Regions from separate parts of the Homo sapiens genome. Here regions 1, 2, 3 and 5 are each linked to region 4. Evidence: promoter capture Hi-C in 16 types of primary human blood cells and fetal thymus (Javierre and others, 2016). All regions are on one chromosome and are shown on one strand. The core of a region is centred on a gene start or on the middle of the fragment in contact, and the rest is flanking DNA. Distances in the headings are between cores, read along the strand shown. Region 1 has its middle 42 kb from the start of TNFSF15. Region 2 has its middle 51 kb from the start of TEX48. Region 3 overlaps TEX48 (testis expressed 48). Region 4 holds the start of TNC (tenascin C). Region 5 holds the start of LOC105376231 (a long non-coding RNA gene).

Region 1 (2,824 bases), core at 125-2,624, 350 kb after region 4:
TGAGCAGGGGCCCTCATAGGCCATGACAGGGACTTTGGAGTATGAGCCTGCAAGTCCCCATCTTTGGAGATAACCTACAAGGAGCAAGAAGCCCAGCCTGGCAGGATAGGTCTAGAATTTTTCACATAAACTGGAACAAAACTGAGACTCTAAAAGAGGCAATATTTCAGTCCTTACAGGAGATGAAATCTACAAGGTCTAGGGCTTGGAAATTCTAAAACCATACACTGATATAAATTCAGACCATCTGAGAAATGAGAGAGGCTGTTTTCTAATTGATTATGGCTAGGGATGTATGAGTTTATCTCAAATCCAAGACACAATGTGAAAATGATGGGTCTGTCTGTGTACAAAAGGAAGGAACCAACCAGTCCTGTCTGATGCCCTATTTCTACAACAATTATCTTCTCATCTTAAGGCCCAGCCATACACTTTCTGGTCATATGACCTTAGACTTTGTAGTCCAAATGGGATAATATACCTACCTTCCATGCTTCTTATAAGTATAAATATGATCAGATACACAAAGCACTAGTCCAATGCCTTAGATATATAGTTGGTTCTCAACAAAGAAATAGTACAGTAGTAGCATCCCATTTCTGGCATAATTTCCTAATTTAATCGTTCTGTTGCATTTATTTAATTGCAAGCTTCATTCCCATCTAAGTAGGAATGTACATAATTAATAATGTATGGGCTTCATTTTCCAACTTGTAAACACCTACTGCAAAATAAGATCTAATTCAGTGGCAACTCTATCATGGCTGAACACCAGAAATACCCAGAGAGGGGCCAACATACCAATTTTCTACAGCCTGATAAATCAGAATCTCTAGGGTCAGGCTTGGATCTAGGTATTACTTTAATCCTTTCTCTGTGATATAATTTAGAATGTCTGATTTAGTCCTTCTGCAGGGGAATTAGTTGATCCAGCAAGCAGAAAATGATTATATATGAGTGATCCCATTCTCCTGCTTAAAACCTTCCAATGGCTTCCCATTGCAATTAGAATCAAATCCCCACTATGGGGATTTGCTGACTGTTGTCTGCCAGACTCTCACCTGCCTTTGGCCACTATGCCAACCCTCCTTCTCCAGGAATTCTCGGGGACTTTGCATTTGCTGTCTTCCTGCTTATGACGGCCTTTCCAGAATGTTGCATAGCTCACTCCTTCCCCTTAGTTGGTCTCAGTTCAGATTGTAACCAAGCCTGTGTTATAAAAATCTTTGTTCTTTTCTTCCTCCATGCGTGCTTGCTTGCACTTAGTCATTTTGGTAGAGAGTATTCACTAATAATTCATAAACCTCATATATTGACCCCGGGGGCTGCCCACAAGATTAATGAACTTGGTTTTCTTTCAAAGAACAATGATGCTTAGCTCATGCAGATCTCCTTGATGGCATCCAGAAGTTTGATCAGCCGAGGGATGCAAGCAGCTTTGATCATTGGGGATCTCGCCTTCCACATACCTACCTTACTCACAAAAACCCCCAGTTATGTTCAAAGACCAGTCAGATTTGAGAGTTTGCCTCTCCCATCCTCACACTTCGGCCAAATCAAATAAAACTTTCTCTGCTCCTAAGCACTGATGTATCAGTGTTTGGCTTACTACGCATCAGGTACTTGAACCTAGCTTTTAGGGTTCTACGGTTTTACATCAAAATGTCCCCTTATTGGAGAGGTCTTTCTCAACCCTAGCAAGCCTGATCCCCATCCTTTGTTCCTAGCACTTCCCAACTGCTACTTTGCCCATACACAGCATGTACCACTCTCCAAAATCATGCTGGGTTTTTTTTTATTATATACATATCTCCAGCCCCATTCCACTGGAATAATCTTGAGAAGGGAGACCTACCTATGTTGTTAATAGTATAGCCAATGCATACTGAATACTGTCTAGCACAAAATAAGCACTCCATAAATATTGACTGAATGAATAAACTGAATACAGTAACCTCATAAAATGACATCAAGCCTATAGGTCCTTTCTGTTGATCTGTTGCCACAGGAAAACTCCCCTCCTGAAATGCACTAGGGTATTTTAACAAGGGATTGAAAATCCTAATTACTCAGTTCCCACACACTTAATGAAGCTTCTTTAAGTTTACTCAATTAAGAAACTTTTTCTCTCAACCTTGCTGATATAATAGCCTTAAGCTCTGAGAAGTTAGGATCTTTTTTAAAGCATTTTGATAGCATTCTTTTTAGCTAAAACAATTTAATTCTGGGGATCCATATTTCTAATGATGTGTCACCAACTTTTGTATTTATGGCACAAGGTGATAAATCCCCTGCTCCTAGAACTTCAAAGCAATAATTAAACTGCGAGCCTCAGACTTTCTCCAAGACATATTGCACACGAATATTGCATAATGCAAATTCAGCAATTTGCTGAAGCACAGAAGACAGTGAGGTATAGAGCTGTGATTTCAACATTTTAAAATGTTCAAATTTAAGTGAATGTGAGATGTTTACATGAATGTGAGATGTTTACGTGAATGTGAGATGCTTTGAAAATGCACCAGTCAGTGGGCAAGATCTCAACCAACATGGCACGCAAAAAGAGAGAACACAAAATCAACAAGTCAGATCTCATGGGCGTCTGCTTATCGTTCCACCAGGGCAACAGGTGTGACACTACTGGACACTTGGAGGGTCTCACCCCATGCTTCTTTTAAGAATGTGAGCTGAAGCTGATTCCGTTATTTAAAGGTATAGGTTTGTGTTGTTTATACAGTATTCCCAGTAAACAGAGGACAAAGTTGCTCAACTAAAGAAACAGCAGGCCAGGGGCAATGCCCCACATTTAATCCCAGCTCTTTGG
Region 2 (2,700 bases), core at 184-2,683, 380 kb after region 4:
CTAGAAGCATAATATTGAATGAAAAGAAGTAACTCTTGGAGTACTACATGTAAGTGTGATACCACTTTTAGAAAGTTAAAACACAAACGATCCTAAATTAGATCATGTTTAGGGGGTACATAGAGAAGTACTGAAGCCCTATTGTTAAAAAAAACAAAGAAGGCCAGGCGTGGTGGCTCACACCTGTAATCCCAGCACTTTGGGGGACCAAGGTGGGCGGATCACCTGAGGTCAGGAGTTTGAGACCAGCCTGGCCAACATGGCAAAACCCCGTCTCTACTAAAAATACAAAAATGAGCCGGGCGTGGTGGCACGCCTCTAGTCCCAGCTACTTGGGAGGCTGAGACAGGAGAATCACTTGAACCCAGCAGGTGGAGGTTGCAGTGAGCCAAGATCACGTCACTGCACTCCAGCCTGGACAACAAGAGCGAAACTGTCTCAAAAAAAAAAAAAAAAAAAAGAAAGAAATGATGTTTTTTAATTTCAGGGTAGTACTTACTGCTGAAAGACGGGTGAAGGAATGGGATTAGGAGCAGCACGTAGATCAATTCAATAGTATTAGAAAAGTTCCCTGTGCGCGGTAGGTTTATCCATTTAAATGTGATTCTTCATAATTTAAAGTAGTCCTAGGGGATACATTCCAAGAACCCCAGTGGATGCCCGAAACTACAGACAGTACCAAACCCTATATGTACTATGGTATGGCTTTTTCAAGACATACACCCCTAGGATGTTTAATTTATAAATTAGGCACAGTCAGAGATTAACAACTAATAATGAAATAGAACAATTATAACAATATGCCAGCATCGCTACTCTTGCATTTTGAAAATGAGGGTCACTTGAATACCCACACTGTAATACCAAGACAGGTTTTCAGATAACTGAAACAGATACTAAATGACTAATGGCCAGGGAGCGTATACAGGGTGGATATGGTGGGATGAGTCATGTCCTAGGTGGAACAGAGAAGGATGGCACAAGTTTTCATCACTCAGGGTGACGCACGGTCTAAAACTTAGGAATTGTTTATTTCTGGAATTTTCCATTCAATATTTTCAGACTGCAGTAGACTGCAGGTAACTGAACTTTTTATTTTATTTTATTTTATTTTATTTTTTGAAACGGAGTCTCGCTGTGTCGCCCAGGCTGGAGCGCAGTGGCGTGATCTCGGCTCACTGTAAGCTCTGCCTCCCGGGTTCACGCCATTCTCCTGCCTCAGCCTCCCGAGTAGCTGGGACTACCTGAGTAGCTGGCACCCACCACCACGCACAGCTAATTTTTTTTTGTATTTGTTTTAGTAGAGACGGGGTTTCACCGTGTTAGCCAGGATGGTCTCGATCTCCTGACCTCGTGATCCACCCACCTAGGCCTCCCAAAGTGCTGGGATTACAGGCGTGAGCCACCGTGCCCGGCAGGTAACTGAACTTTTGAAAAGCAAGACTGAGGACAAGGAGGAACCACAGTACTATATATCTACACATATAGATATGCACATGCATACATATACATAAACTATAATTCCATAATATATGTAATAATGTCACAGTGATAATGTAACTATCATTATGTAACATTATCTTATATATAAAAATATTACATAACATTTTTAAAATCCAAGCTATTCAATGTTGAACTAGGAATTTGATTTCCTTGCTCCTGACCCTGTACTGTTATTGTCTTAAGAATTTATTTTCCCCTGCTTTTCTTGAGCTGTATGGAATTTTTTTCTTATGTCTATTACTTACTTATTTACTAATTTAAAAAGAAATACATTAACGACCTAAGATTAAAGGCTATAAACTTAATTACAGGAATAAAGCAATCCACAAAGGCTACTCTGGGTTCATTCTTCAAAAGTCACATGACAGAGGGTGAAGATTATAATAGCTCTGGACACCAGGGATGATGCATCAATACTCAGAAGGTGTGGCTTGAGCTAACATCCATGCCAAGGCTATTACGACTAGTATATTTCCACAGGCCAAGACTGAACAGGTTTGAATTCCCAAAGAGTTCAATGCATTCTCCTGTGTTATAAGCAGATCAAAGAATAAAATCACTGTTTTGCTGCTCAGGCTGCCGTAACAAAGTGCCACAGACTGGGTGGATTAAACAACAGAAATTTATTTTCTGACAGTTTTGGAGACTGGAAGTCCAAGAACAAGGTGTCAGAAGGCCTCTCTCCTTGACTTGCAGATGATCAGTTTCTCACCGTGTCTTCACATGGTCTATGTGAGTCTAAACCCTAATTTCCTCTTCTTAGAAGGACAACAATTATATTGGACTACAGCCCATCCCAATGACCTTATTTAATCTTAATTACCTCTTTAAAGACTTTAATCTCTAAATATAGTTACATTCTGAAGTACTGGGGGTTAGGATTTCAACATGAATTTTGGAGTACACAATTCAACCCCTAACAGTCACCAAGGAAGCCCTCCCTGGAAAATGATAGGCCTGCTTATATTTCAAATTAGACCAGCATTGTCTAAGAACATTTTGCATAATAATGAAATTGTTTTATATCTACACCATCCAATTGGGAGATGTTGGATATGTCTATGACCTTGATTGTGATGACAGCACAGGTGTGTGCCTTTTGCCCGAACGCAACAAATTGTGCACATCTGTATGTGCAGGTCTTATATGCCAATTACATCTCAACAATGTTATCTTTAAAAAAAGAAAGACAAATGT
Region 3 (2,700 bases), core at 96-2,595, 450 kb after region 4:
GCACTCCAGCCTGGGCAACAGAGCAGATCCCTGTCTCAAAAAATAAATAAATAGATAAGTAAAATTCATCCATAATACATAGGATATGATGGACTATGTAAAATATGCATAGGAAAAGACTGGAACTGTGATAATAACTTGGGGAAGAGATGTTTGGGGCACTTTTTCCTCCCTTATACTATTCAATATTTCCTAACTTTTCTATAAAGCGTATGCATTACATTTATAAATGGAAAAAAGTTAATGTTTTAAAAAGAATACATACTTTGCCCTGAATTGATCATTACACATTCTATGCATGTAACAAAATTTCATATGTAGCCCATAAATACATACAAATACAATGTATTATTTTAAAATACACACTTTGAATCCAGCACCTGCTTGTGAGGGGAAGCCCTCAGAGGACAGGAGGTGGTAGTTTCAGGTACACCCCCACCCCATAATAACCCCCACTTGCCTGTGTGCGCTGCTTCAGAGCTTGCAAAACATCTTCACTTCCGTGATCTCACCTAAGCCTCCCCCACGTGACCCTGTGGAATTCTCATTGCCAGATTTGCTGCTTCAGAAGGATGAGCTTGACAGACAAAATCCCAAGCGCATTAACGCAGTCTCCCATTTGCCTTCGAGAACACCCCTGATCCAGACAAAAAAGAGCACTTCCTCCAGCAGCAGTGAGTTTGAGGGTGAGTCCCAAATTGGGGTCCTAACACTGACCAGAAACTCCCAGACAGGGAGCCTGGTCCTAATAACCAGACCCCATTGATACTTCAGCTAAGCGAGATGGGGAGATGGAATTGCTCCCATCAAGCAGCCCCAGTCATATTCCAGAGCACACTGGGGAGACCCTAGAGGCTAAGACCTGACTCCACTATCTTCCAAGCTAGGAAGTGCATGAGAAGGAGCAGGTCTGGGGGGAAGGGCAAACATCCATGCTTTCCTTTCAAAGCTTTGTGGCATCATCTTTTTTTTTTTTTTTTTTTTTTGAGATGGAGTCTCCCTCTGTTGTCTAGGCTTGAGTGCAGTGGTGCAGTCTCCAATCTCAGCTCACTGCAACTTCCACCTCCCAGGTTCAAGTGATTCTCCTGTCTCAGCTTCCTGAGTAGCTGAGATTACAGGCGCCCACCAACATGCCTGGTTAATTTTTGTATTCTTAGTAGAAAAAGGGTTTCACCATGTTGGCCAGGCTGGTCACGAACTCCTGACCTCAAGTGATCCACCTACCTTGGCCTCCCAAAGTGCTGGGATTACAGGTGTAACCACCGCACCTGGCGGCATCATCTTACACGTGTATTTTTCATATGCTTACTTGATGTCTACTTTGGCCACTAGACAGTAAGTGCCAGGAGGGCAGGGGCCCACATCAGTTTTATTCCCTGTTATGCCCCCAGATCCAGCCAGGTGCATGGCAAGTAAACAATGCCAGAAAACACTTGTGGATTGAGTGTAGTTCAACTGGGGGTGAAATGCCTCTGGGTCACAGAAGAACAGATGCCCAATCCCAGGACAGTGGCACAGCCCAGGAAGAAGAAATGCAGCCACATTGCTGGGCGCCAGTTCTATCCCCAGGTGGTCTCACATAACTCACAACCACCCCAGGAGTCCTGTTGAGAACTAAGGATTATCCAACCCAGTCATTTTGAATTCCCCTAACAACTAAACCCCCTTGAAAACAGCATTTCACAGAGTCCATTTTCTATAAAAGATCAAAGAGGAACAGCTCTGCTTGAATCAAGCTTGAGAAGGTAGGAACCCCACTAGCTCGCCCACTCCTTCCTTCTGCCCTTCCCACCCCCCCATAGGGGTGAGGCTCACAGAGGGAAAGGGACTTCCCACGAGTGCACTAGGGAATGACGTAAGTGTCAGAGCCAGGATGGGCCCAAGTCTCCTACCTTCCATATCACTGTGCTTTGCAAGACAGCCTACTGTCACTGAAGCCACCAACGTAACACAATGCAAAATACACTGCAAGAAACTCCTCCTATCACAAAAGACTTCCAAGTCCTAGACTAGGGTCTGCCTTGGGTCCCTTGAGATTCAAGAAGCTGAGGAATGATCAGCAATGGATACAAACAACCAAAACAGTTCATCAAAGCCCAATTCAAAGGCCTTCACCCAGCATAATTTTTTCCTTTCTTCTTTCAGATCTGAATGCATATGCTTCCCAAAGAAATTTTTACAAGAGAAACTTAAACCGCTACTGCCAGGAGCACTGGCCATTCCAGCCATGCCTCACTGGGAGGCCCTGAGCATTCTAGCCGGCGGCTGCACAGCTGCTGGGGCATCTCCATGAGGAAGAGGGCGGTGGACAGGAGTCATGAAGACTAATTCGGAAACTCCCCTGAAGGAGGAGAAGACATCTGAGCCATCCTTGTGCCACCAAGCAAGAGTCACTCCAGCTCCTAAAAAGCCACCATGGGAAGAGCTGCCTCCAATTAAAGTTCTTGATTGCACCAGAGGATGTGTCCTTCTCTTTTCCTTTCCCCCTTACCAACTAATGTCTTATTATTTTTAAATATATTGTCACATCTAACTAAGCTTAAAAAATTTAGCCTATTGGCTGGGCGCAGTGGCTCACGCCTGTAATCCCAACACTTTGGGAGACCGAGGCAGGTGGATCACATGAGGTCATAAGTTCAAGACCAGCCTGGCCAATGCGGTGAAACCCCATCTGTGCTAAAAATAAAAAAATCTGCCAGG
Region 4 (2,700 bases), core at 65-2,564:
TCATACCCTATTCCTAAACAGTAACGTGTAATAGATCTCTGGAGCCCAGTGTTGTAATATAAACACTTCCCAGGTGTATTCCCTTGGTAAAGTTTCATTACTTCTCTAAACGTCAGTTTTCTTGTGTAAAAAAGAGACACTTGTGTCTATCCTACTTACTGGTTACAAGGATATAATAAAAATAGTGAACAAAAATAGTGTTCATAAAGTACCCTGCACAGCACCTGATTATAGACTTAATAAGGGAGGGCTCAATGGTAGTTGCGTTTTGAATTACATTTAATGCTTCATTTTACTTCACTGTCACAAACTACTATGCTCTGCGGCAGGCTCAGAAGTCTCTAGGCACGGGTGAAGTGCTACTTCTCCACTCCCTTAAATGCCCCTGTATGCCCTGAGGATACTCAATGCATGCTAACCACCAAACGAACGGATGACTCAGAGCTTGGAGGAAATCCACGGCAGGCTGGAAAGCAAAGGCGCAGCTTATGGCTCAAGGATTAGGTTGTTACCTTTTTAAATTATTGCTTTTCTTTAAAGAAAGGGCTGTGGGGGACGCCTTTCAGCACTAAGAGAAAACCTCAGAAATCCTTCCCCCTGGAGACCCAGCTGAGAAGACCACACCAGGCACAGGGCATGAACAATGTCAAAAAGCTACTGCCCTGCAGGACACTGGGGCTGGAACAAAGATGCCTCCCAGCAGCTGGGCAAGGCTGGCTCCCACACAAGAAAAGCAGGGCTGATGTGAGCGTCCCGCACGATCCCCACCTGCTGAGACCTAATCCTGGGTTATCTCTCCGCTGGCCCAGAGAAACCTGAAACCCCCCAGGCTTTTGAAGGGCTTTATCTCCTCTTTCCAGGAACTGGGCTCAGTCCCTGTACTCGCTCCGAGGTGCCACTGAGCAGCTGCTGCCCAGAGCCCAGGCGAGCCCTGGTCCCATTTCCAGCTTGACCAAGTACAAGAGGGGAGCCAGGGCTGCGGATCCTACTCCCTCTTGCTCCCCAGGCATCCGTCTCACAATTAGAAAACCCGTGTGGGGAGCAAAGCAAAAATCACATTTCACTAACAGCTACTCGGGGTCGGGGGCGGGCAGGCGGGAATTCCTACTTTCGCCATAAATTGTATGCAAATGGGTTCCTTCCCTGGCCGAGAGCCAGGAGTGAGTGCGTCTTTCATGAGCTAACCCTGTTCCGCTGGGAGGGCTGTTCCTTTAATTCGCCAACTGAAAAAGTGGGAAAGGATGTCTGGAGGCGAGGCGTCCCATTACAGAGGAAGGAGCTCGCTATATAAGCCAGCCAAAGTTGGCTGCACCGGCCACAGCCTGCCTACTGTCACCCGCCTCTCCCGCGCGCAGATACACGCCCCCGCCTCCGTGGGCACAAAGGCAGCGCTGCTGGGGAACTCGGGGGAACGCGCACGTGGGAACCGCCGCAGCTCCACACTCCAGGTACTTCTTCCAAGGACCTAGGTCTCTCGCCCATCGGAAAGGTAAGTCTGTTTTGCCCTCATCACTAGAGATCCTTATGATGTAAGGATTGCATTCCTGGTACCAAATGAGTTGTGATTTTATATTATAATTACAAAACATATGGGGTTTTTTTTTCCACCGCTGGAAAAAAAAGGAGTGTGTATTGGTTATATCAGATGCACCTTGACTTTTCTGGTCTTGTAATTTTGTTTGTTTTAACTTTATGAATAGTCAGACTTGGAAGGAACTTTTCGTAAAGTTGTTATCTTCTGCTGTTCTGCAGAGGAAAAGTAAAAATTTTCTCTTCAACTGCTCTCCTACTTCTAGTCTGGCTGATTCACCTGTATATATCTTTTATTTTGAGGGTTAGGGCAGTAGAGTTTTAAGGCAGACTTTGCTCATAGCCTGCCCCTGGGATGGGTTAGAGGGAGTTTGATAGAGGAGTGCAGGGAGAATATAAAAGTTTATATCTAAACAGCACTTACATAAAGTTTACAAAGAGTTTTGTACCCATTCCCTCATTTGGTCCTCAAAATATTCACCCTGGAAATGAGAGCTGGGGGACAGAAGAGAGGAGGTGGCTCCTGGGCCAGATGAATAACTGACAGGCAGCTAGAGAGTGGTGGAGAACAGCTTTACTGGGGTGCCTAGAGCCAGCAGCGTCCCACATGTCTCTAGAATCACCTCCTCCTCCTCACCTCTCATCACAGAAAGATCTGAGCAACAACATCCCCCAGGTATGGGAACCCTGCTGCCCCTGGTGTACTTTGGAAAGAACACAGGGGTTCTTCTCACCCATCAGTGTTGTAAGAGGAATAAGAGCTTAGGTTTGAAGCCAGAGGTGTTTGGTATTCTCCCCACCACCATACATATGACCCTGAGAAAGATACATCACTTCCTTAATCCTCAGTTTTCACATCTCTAAAATGGGGACAATAGCGTCTGCTGTCGTTTTGAGGAGAAAATGAGGTATAGAAAGATCAGCAATGACTGCTTAATAACTGGAAGTTTGGATAATCATTGTCATTGCCAAAAACTGCCATCACTCTGGAAGTTAAAAGAGGCATTGAGCCAGTCTTGGATTGTTTCTTGTGTGTTGTTCCTCAGCCCGCCCCCAGCCCCCGCTTTTTATCTCACCCAATCTGAGGGTGTCTCACTAGGCTGGCAGGTCTGAGACTTGGCTGTATTTTACAAGCAGGAGGTTGTGTTGGCACAGGTTGGAGAAAAGGTA
Region 5 (2,700 bases), core at 34-2,533, 420 kb after region 4:
CAGTCATCTACAACTTACAGTTCTGAAACAGTTCAAAGGCAACGAAAGGCCCAGAGGCCCCATAGAAACACCTAGTTTTCTGATGAAGACACCCAGTCATCTTTTCGGTCCATTTCAAAGTCATTCACCATTTTTCCTACAATATCAAGATCTTATCCCAATCACCTTATGTCCTCACTCTCAGTTGTCCATGGGAGCATGGGAATGGACAGAACTTTCCAGGAAGTGATATGGCCTATCCTGGAGCTAGGGAAAATGAAAGTGAGCAGTAAGAAGTGGGCATGAAATATAGAATCCTTGAGCACAAAAAGACCTCATACCAAAGACTTTATTTTACAGAAGCAGAAATAGACCAGAGAGGAAAGGGGATTTTCCTAAAGACACAGAGCAGAGTGGACATGACACCTCCCCTTCTATAGCACACACTTTTTAAGGCAGAGGGGCTGAAAAATGGAGGGTACCAAGGGATTACTTATTCTCTCTGGTCTAGGGAGAGTGACTACCAGAAACCTCTCCCCTAAGATGTGTTCTTTACCTTCCTTGAGCCACATCTACAAAACAGGGGTGGTACTCACACCTCCCTCACTGTGCATTGTCAGGTTTAAATGGGACAGGTTTAGATAGAATGCCTATCCCATAGCAGGTGCTTCATAGACATCATTTTCTCTCACCCTCCTGAGTAGCTGTGTGACCCCAAAGAAGAGACAGGGGTCATTCTGCTTTCACTTGGCCGGGGGTTACAATCATACAAAAAAGACTGTGGCTTCTTACCCACGATGAGTCATATGCTGCTTTCCATCTCAGTTTCAATTCATCTGGAGACAATTCTGATGATTTCAGACCCCGGGCTCTTTCAGCCCCAAGGCCTCAGGCCACTACCACATTTCCTCTGCCAAGCTGCCCCCTTATAACAAATTTGAAGAAAACACAGAAAAAGAGGAGAAGACAAAAAAAAATTAAGTATAAAAGTTTCCCCCCCATTCTCCAGGAGTCAGGTGGTGGGTGGGTGGGTGGAGACATGGCCAGGCCATGGTGGGAAGAGCCCCAGTGAATTATACCCTTGGTGCAGGGAACCCACAAACAGAGACACTGGCCTTGTTTCCCATCACTGCGAAGCCATCATGACCTTCAAACAGCTTGCAGGGCGGGGCCCTTCACATCTTCTGAGTCCTGATATGACTGAGCATCCATTATATAACCATGTTGTGAATAACTTGGTCTCAGTCCTCGACCACAATCTCAATTTCGGGGCATCCCTGATCTCTCTCTGCAGAGAGATTCAGAAGAGGCCCCAGAGATAGTAAAAGTTGGGGGATGGTGGGAGTTGTTTTTTGCTGTTGTCTTATTCCGATTCACACCACCATGTGATAATGGGACCTTTCCCTTTCTCTGGGAGTGAACCTTGCAAAACCACCCAAAGTCAGAGCAGGAAGGGACCCCCAAAGCTCCTGGGATTTAGTTCTCCACCTTCTACCGGGTGAAATGGCAAACCTAATAAAGGCAAAATCCTGGCTCTTCCAGAACTGATAAAAATGTAGACCCTGCCAGGCACAGTGGCTCACACCTATAATCCCAACACTTTGGGAGGCCGACGTGGGTGGATCATCTGAGGTCAGGAGTTCGAGACCAGCCTCACCAACACGGCGAAACACTGTCTCTACTAAAAATCCCAAATTTAGCCAGGTGTGGTGGTACACGCCTGTAATCCCAACTACTCAGGAGGCTGAGGCAGGAGAATGGCGTGAACCCGGGAAGTGGAGCTTGCAGTGAGCCGAGATTGCACCACTGCACTCCAGCCTGGGTGACAGAGCGAGACTCCATCTCTAAATAAATAAATAAATAAAATCTTCAATGGAACCTTTGTGAAGCTCAACACATCTTCAATTAACATGCTGAGGATTGTAGAACCATATATTGCATGTGGGTAGCCAAATCTGAAGTCAGTAAATGAACTAATCTGTAAGTGTGGTTATGGCAAAATCAATAAGAAGCGAATTGCTTTGACAGGTAACACTTTGATTGCTCAATCTCTTGGTAAATATGGTATCATCTGCACGGAAGATCTGATTCATGAGATCTATACTGTTGGAAAATGCTTCAAACAAGCAAGTAACTTCCTGTGGCCCTCCAAACCATCCTCTCCAGAAGGTGGAATGAAGAAAAAGACCACCCATTTTGTAGAAGGTGGAAATGCTGACAACAGGGGGGACCAGATCAACAGCCTTCTTAGAAGAATAAATGAAGATGTCTACCATGATTATTTTTCTAATCTGGTCAGTTAATAAACAGTACCTGCTCTTGAATTGAAAAAAAAAAAAAAAGGAAAACTCAATTATCAACCTTAGTTTTATCTCCTTTAAAATTTGTATCTTATTTAAAAAATATATTATCAGAAGCTCAAAGAACCATGAAGCCTGGGTTAAAATGCAGTAAGCCGGGATCATGCCACTGCACTCCAGAGCCTGGGCAACAGAGCGAGACTCTGTCTCAAAAAAAAAAAAAAAAAAAAAAAAAAATGAATTCTTAAAACTTTTTCTGGCTGAGCACAGTGGCTAACACCTGTAATCCCAGCACTTTGGGAGGCTGAGGTGGGTGGATCACTTGAGGTCAGGAGTTCAAGACCAGCCTGATCAACATGGTAAAACCCTGTCTCTATTAAAAATACAAAAAAAAAAAAAATTAGCCAGGCATGGTGGTGGG

What was found. The method cuts DNA at HindIII sites, captures the fragments that hold promoters and counts their contacts. A CHiCAGO score of 5 or more calls a contact.
Region 1: a contact is called between a fragment that was not itself captured here and the fragment with the promoter of TNC in region 4, in 1 of 17 cell types (M1 macrophages). The highest score is 5.0, in M1 macrophages.
Region 2: a fragment that was not itself captured here is called in contact with the fragment with the promoter of TNC in region 4 in 2 of 17 cell types (M0 macrophages and M1 macrophages); the score reaches 6.4 in M0 macrophages.
Region 3: a fragment that was not itself captured here is called in contact with the fragment with the promoter of TNC in region 4 in 2 of 17 cell types (M1 macrophages and M0 macrophages); the score reaches 9.3 in M1 macrophages.
Region 5: a contact is called between a fragment that was not itself captured here and the fragment with the promoter of TNC in region 4, in 2 of 17 cell types (M1 macrophages and M0 macrophages). The highest score is 6.7, in M1 macrophages.

The regions. Positions count from the first base shown.
Region 1 is chr9:114,762,975-114,765,798 of GRCh38, reverse strand. No RefSeq gene overlaps it. Among named protein-coding and RNA genes, the nearest start is that of TNFSF15, 42 kb to the left of the region's middle. The HindIII fragment of the contact is 1,443 bases long and covers 653-2,095 here.
Region 2 is chr9:114,732,249-114,734,948 of GRCh38, reverse strand. No RefSeq gene overlaps it. Among named protein-coding and RNA genes, the nearest start is that of TEX48, 51 kb to the right of the region's middle. The HindIII fragment of the contact is 6,712 bases long and covers 1-2,700 here.
Region 3 is chr9:114,666,192-114,668,891 of GRCh38, reverse strand. It overlaps TEX48 (testis expressed 48), which reads left to right. Exons shown (of 5, transcript NM_001199233.2): 4 at 555-686; 5 at 2,146-2,458. The coding sequence ends at 2,249. Among named protein-coding and RNA genes, the nearest start is that of TEX53, 9.7 kb to the right of the region's middle. The HindIII fragment of the contact is 787 bases long and covers 952-1,738 here.
Region 4 is chr9:115,116,771-115,119,470 of GRCh38, reverse strand. It overlaps TNC (tenascin C), which reads left to right and starts at 1,314. Exons shown (of 28, transcript NM_002160.4): 1 at 1,314-1,489. All of the region lies in intron 2 of LOC124902255 (a long non-coding RNA gene), which reads right to left. RefSeq lists an enhancer at 216-1,035. The HindIII fragment of the contact is 3,799 bases long and covers 1-2,700 here.
Region 5 is chr9:114,695,460-114,698,159 of GRCh38, reverse strand. LOC105376231 (a long non-coding RNA gene) reads right to left here and starts at 2,310. Exons shown (of 2, transcript XR_007061745.1): 1 at 1-2,310. RefSeq lists enhancers at 1-54, 1,040-1,159, 1,170-1,219. The HindIII fragment of the contact is 3,680 bases long and covers 1-2,700 here.